Regions from separate parts of the Homo sapiens genome. Here region 2 is linked to region 1. Evidence: promoter capture Hi-C in human tissues and cell types (Jung and others, 2019). All regions are on one chromosome and are shown on one strand. Each heading gives the region's core, a stretch centred on a gene start or on the middle of the fragment in contact. The rest is flanking DNA. Distances are from core to core; before and after follow the strand shown. Region 1 has its middle 13 kb from the start of FMO3. Region 2 holds the start of FMO4 (flavin containing dimethylaniline monoxygenase 4).

Region 1 (2,870 bases), core at 187-2,686:
TGTGTTTTTTGGCTGCATAAATGTCTTCTTTTGAGAACTGTCTGCTCATGTCCTTCACCCACTTTTTGATGGGGTTGTTTGTTTTTTTCTTGTAAATTTGTTTGAGTTCATTGTAGATTCTAGATATTAGCCCTTTGTCAGATGAGTAGGTTGCGAAAATTTTCTCCCATTTTATGGGTTGCCTGTTCACTCTGATGGTAGTTTCTTTTGCTGTGCAGAAGCTCTTTAGTTTAATTAGATCCCATTTGTCAATTTTGGCTTTGGTTGCCATTGCTTTTGGTGTTTTGGACATGAAATCCTTGCCTGTGCCTATGTCCTGAATGGTAATGCCTAGGTTTTCTTCTAGGGTTTGTATGGTTTTAGGTCTAATGTTTAAGTCTTTAATCCATCTTGAATTAATTTTTGTAAAAGGTGTAAGGAAGGGATCCAGTTTCAGCTTTCTACATATGGCTAGCCAGTTTTCCCAGCACCATTTATTAAATAGGGAATCCTTTCCCCATTGCTTGTTTTTCTCAGGTTTGTCAAAGATCAGATAGTTGTAGATATGTGGCGTTATTTCTGGGGGCTCTGTTCTGTTCCATTGATCTATATGTCTGTTTTGGTACCAGTACCATGCTGTTTTGGTTACTGTAGCCTTGTAGTATAGTTTGAAGTCAGGTAGCATGATGCCTCCAGCTTTGTTCTTTTGGCTTAGGATTGACTTGGCGATGCGGGCTCTTTTTTGGTATTGACATTGACCTCAGAAAGCGTGCCAGATTTTTCATAGGTTAGTGATACATAGATCTGCAGTAACGTATGATTACTGTTTAAAAACCAATGTCTCTTTTTGGTTGTGAAGATTTTTGCATTAAAAATACATATAAGATATTGATAAAACCCCACATATGTAATCTAAAAACTCCTCCACGTTTGCAGCTGAACTTCTGAGTTAAAAAAATTTCTAATGAAATGGTTCAGTTAAATTATTTCATGTCTACATCCTTAAGCTGCTGTCTATACTGCAGATAAAATGTGATTCACATGTGATCACTACTGAGAAAAATTGAGTACAAGGAACTATTGAATATATTGAAATATTTTTATATGTTTAAGAAAAGTTAGGAACTAGATAAAGAGGTGAAAAAGAAAGGGCCTTGAAGAATGTGCCAGGAAGGCCTTGAATCTTCATCCAAGCTTTGCACAATTGATACGTAGTCTAACAGGCTTGGACCTTGGAACTAAAAATGATTCTTCTGGGGCAGCCACCCAGTAGACATCTGTTTCAAGTGCATATGATGCATAACTCATGCCCCTCCCCCGACCCCCTGCCATCCCACATTGCTCAACTCCTTAAGATAAGCTTTAGTTTTTTAATTTCACTTGTAACTTTTATAAGAACTTCCGATAGCCTCTTAGGAAAGAAGAAACCTACATATTTTAATAAAGCTTGATGGCATATAATTTTATACTAAAATTTTATAAAGCAAAATTAATAAATACAAGTGTATTAGTCTGTTTTCATGTTGCTGATAAAGACATACCTGAAACTGGGCAATTTACAAAAGAAAGACATTTAATGGACTTATACGTGGCTGAGGAAGCCTAATCATGACACTAGGCAAAAAGAGAGCTTGTGCAGGGAAACTCCCCCTTATAGAACCATCAGATCTCATGAGATTTATTCACTATAATGAGGACAGCATGGGAAAGTCCTGCCCTCATGATTCAATTACCTCCCACTGGGTCCCTCCCACAACATGTGGGAATTCAAGATGAGATTTGGGTGGGGACACAGCAAAACCATATCAATCAGACTTTGAGTTAAAATAACACAATATTTTATGTAATTTTTATGCTTGACTATGTACCAGAAAGAATTACTTTGCTAGCTTCTTCTTTCTCCTCATTTCCTGCTGCCTCTGCAGTACCCATCCCCAATATAAATAGAACACATGAATTTTGGAATCAAATAGATCTGCAGTCTGATAGAATAGGTAGTAAGAAAGGGAGTAGAGGCAAATATGGGTGGGCTGGGTTCAAAGAAAGAGGCATGGTGGAGTTGAGGAATTTCCTAGATGATGGCTTCTATTTTTGTCTATAATGTAGGGAGCAAAGTCATCTGCTGAGAATGAGTGGGCAAGTCGTCAAGTAGTAGATTTCAGGAGTGTTAAATAAAGGCAGGAACTACCTATAAGGCTTGCCTGGGGTATCAAGGTCTGATTGGGGTTGAGGAACACAGATTTCTAATAGACCAGGACTTCTTCATGGGCAATAGCAGCATTCTGCATGCATGTGTAATGTTTCTCAGGGAGCAGTGTAATCTAGGAGCAGAGAAGGAAGTAAAGTAGGTGAATTCATCTAAGGTTAGAGTTTTCCTAGATAGGTTCAAAGGAAGGGGGATGGTGGGGTAGCAGCTTTTTTTCTGAGGGTGGCAGCTGAAGTGAAAGACAAGAGTCCTAAGCCATGCAAGAAGGCAATGAAGATTTGACAACAGGGTTTAAAGGTCTGAATCTTCGCAGTAAAGTGAAAGATGAGATGTGGTAGGAATGAAGGTGTCATGAGCTGAACTGTGCTCCCCACCAAACTCCTACGTTGAAGTCTTAACCCGTAGTACTGCAAAAGATGACTGTATTTGGAGATAGGGTCTTTAAAGGGGGAACTAAGATTAAATGAGTTCATTAGGGTGGGTTCTAATTTGGTCTTACAGTGTCCTAATAAGAAGAGATTAACACACAGACACAGAGGAAAGATCGTGAGAGGACACAGAGAAGTTGGCTATCTATAAGCTAAGGAGAGAGGCCTCAGAAGAAACCAGATCTGGGGCCAGGCGCGGTGGCTCACACCTGAAATCCCAGCACTTTGGGAGGCTGAGGCGGGCGGATAACCTGAGG
Region 2 (2,836 bases), core at 179-2,678, 240 kb before region 1:
AGTTCTGCTTCTGCCTCTAAGCAGCTTGTAACCCTGGACACAATTCTCAATTTCTCTGAGCCAGTGCTTCCACATTTGTAAAACAGAGGGTTCAAGTGGCTTTCTCTTTGTTTCCTTCAAGCTTGAAAGGACTGTTCTTATGTCTGAAAACCAAGTAATTGGTGCACAAAAAAAAAAAGATATGAATTCAAAGGTAGGCGAGAATACTGCAGGCTTGAAGGATTGGGAGAACGTGTGTGCAAACTCTGCAAACTATAAAGTGGACTTCATAAGGTACTTGGTTGCTCAAAGGTGCTTATATTTATTTATTTATTTATTTGAGTTGGAGTCTCACTCTGTCTTCCAGGCTGGAATGCAGTGGCACAATTTCGGCTCACTGCAACCTCCACCTCCTGGGTTCAAGTGATTCTCCTGCCTCAGCCTCCTGAGTAGCTGAGACTACAGGCAGGCGGCACCACGCCTGGATAATTTTTGTATTTTTAGTAGAGACGGGGTTTCACCATGTTGGTCAGGCTGGTCTCAAACTCCTGATCTCAAGTGGTCTGCCCTCCTCGGCTTTCCAAAGTGCTGGGATTACAGGCGTGAGCCACCGTGCCAGCCATAGGTTGCTTATATTTAGTCCCTTGGCAGAAAGGAGACCTGACCTATTGAACTAGACCTTTGTACAACGGGAAAACCCCACCCTATACCTGACTGACCAGCAAATGTAGGAATCCTTTATGAGACATGGAGAGACTTGGGTGATTTGCAAATCATGTAATCAATTATGATTTCTTTGAATTTGAAATTTGATCATTTTATGTTTCTTATCATCATCCTACCATGCTCTTGCTTTGTTACAGTATTTTTTTCCCACGCCATCTATGGGGTATTTGTTTCCCAATGGCTGGCATTTCCATCTCATTCATAAGATGAAATCAGAGGTCACTGGAGTCACTGAAAGTCTCATGATTCTGTTTATCTCACTGACACTTTCCTTTTGGATGGTTCTGTCCACAACATAACTTTGTTTCCTTACAACTTCCCTTTGCTTCCTGACTCTCTCCTTAATTCTCTTGCTTTAGCCCTAGTCAAGAGACCCCAAAAGAAGATAATCACATTCATTCTTAAGGAACACACTCCAAGAAAAACATTCATCTTTTGTGAAAGCAGTTTCTGGATCATTTCCCCATTAAAAAAAAAATCCAGGACACTTACCTTGGTTAGCATAGAGCAGATTCTTTGACTTAAATTATTTCTCAAAGTCAAGGAAAGTGTTTGTCTTTTTTTTTTAAAAAAGCTCAAAACCCAAATTCTTTTTTCTGAAAGAAAAATAAATGGAAAGATGACTTTTGTAAAAGTGCCCTCAGTTTAAAACAAAAGCCATTCGTCTTTTCTGTTATGCTAGTGACAGCAGAAAGTATACAGACTAAGGAAAAAAAGTTGTGTAAGAGGCAAGCGTGATACTTCCGTGATCTTAAGGGAGGGCGGAATGGTGAGTTAGAATACAGCTGTTGGATTGGCAGAACATAAACGCTTCCTGCCCCTTTACCCCACCCTCCTCAACGTCATAGTTCTGGCAAAGCCCTAAAGCTATGGGAAGCACATGATAGCGTCGCTTTTGCCATTATAGTCTGTAGAGGGCGCCAAATCACCCCAAATTACAGCTTTCTCAGCGAAACAGGAGTTCTACTTTTGGAAACAAACTTCTACACCCTGACTCTTGCTTGGATTACCATAGGAGCTGTCCAAAGGAGAAAGTTATTTAGATGACCATTACCTCATCAAGTTCTTTCATGCTTGGAGTTCTCCAACCCCAGAAATGTGATTTTAAAGTTCAGGACTTACAAGGAATTTAAGCTGTTTTGTCCTTCAGATTGGATCAGCAGAGGGAGCTGGTGAAATGTGTTTGAGAAAGCATAAAGCTATTTTTAGATATTAACCTAGGGCACAAGAAAGGTAATAATTATAGAAGCTGTGGCAGAAATAGAAAACTTAACTGTTTTTCCTTCCACTGTGTGCTTGTAAGATAATATAACAGACCATCTTTAGGACTTGTGTTTAGGGACATTTTCCAACATGGTTCACTGAACAATTTCTAAACCACATTTGCTTGTGACTACACATGCAAATGCCTACAGGAGTGAGGAGGGTAACATACACGAGGAAAGTGGGCCAGATATGATCTGACTGGAAAGTACTTTCTCTGTCTATTCAGTTCAGCTAAATGTTGCTATTTGAGAAAATGAGCCCAATATGGCAAGGCCTTAGGTTCTTTTCAGTAAAAGCTGCAAATACAGATTTTAATATAAAATCTTCTGTTGGCAGCAAATATTTTCTTTTGAAAAATATCATGGAATATTATGCAGCCATAAAAAGAAATAAGATCATGTCCTTTGCAGGGACATGGATGAAGCTGGAAGCCATCATCCTCAGCAAACTAACACAGGAACAGAAAACCAAACACTGCATGTTCTCACTCATAAGTGGGAGTTGAACAATGAGAACACATGGACACAGAGAGGGGAATGTTGTAGGGCCTGTTGTAGGGTAGGGGGTGAGGAGAGGGAACTTAGAGGAGAACAGGTCAATAGGTGCAGCAAATCACCATGGCACACGTGTACCTATGCAACAAACCTGCACGTTCTGCACATGCATCCCACTTTTTTTTAGAAGAAATAAAGAAAAAAATTTAAAAAAAGAAAAAAAAATATTGTGTCCAGAGTTAGTTCCTTCCGGTGGGTTCCTGGTCTCCCTGACTTCAAGAATGGAGCTGCGGACCTTTGTGGTGAGTGTTACAGTTCTTAAAAGATGGCACAGACCCAAAGAGTGAGCAGCAGCAAGATTTATTGTGAAG

What was found. Contacts are between HindIII fragments. The study calls those that stand out against the background at their distance.
Region 2: the fragment with the promoter of FMO4 here is called in contact with a fragment that was not itself captured in region 1 in 1 of the 25 tissues and cell types used here (IMR-90 fibroblasts).

The regions. Positions count from the first base shown.
Region 1 is chr1:171,075,988-171,078,857 of GRCh38, reverse strand. No RefSeq gene overlaps it. Among named protein-coding and RNA genes, the nearest start is that of FMO3, 13 kb to the left of the region's middle. The HindIII fragment of the contact is 4,052 bases long and covers 1-2,870 here.
Region 2 is chr1:171,312,775-171,315,610 of GRCh38, reverse strand. FMO4 (flavin containing dimethylaniline monoxygenase 4) reads right to left here and starts at 1,428. Exons shown (of 10, transcript NM_002022.3): 1 at 1,198-1,428. The HindIII fragment of the contact is 8,197 bases long and covers 1-2,836 here.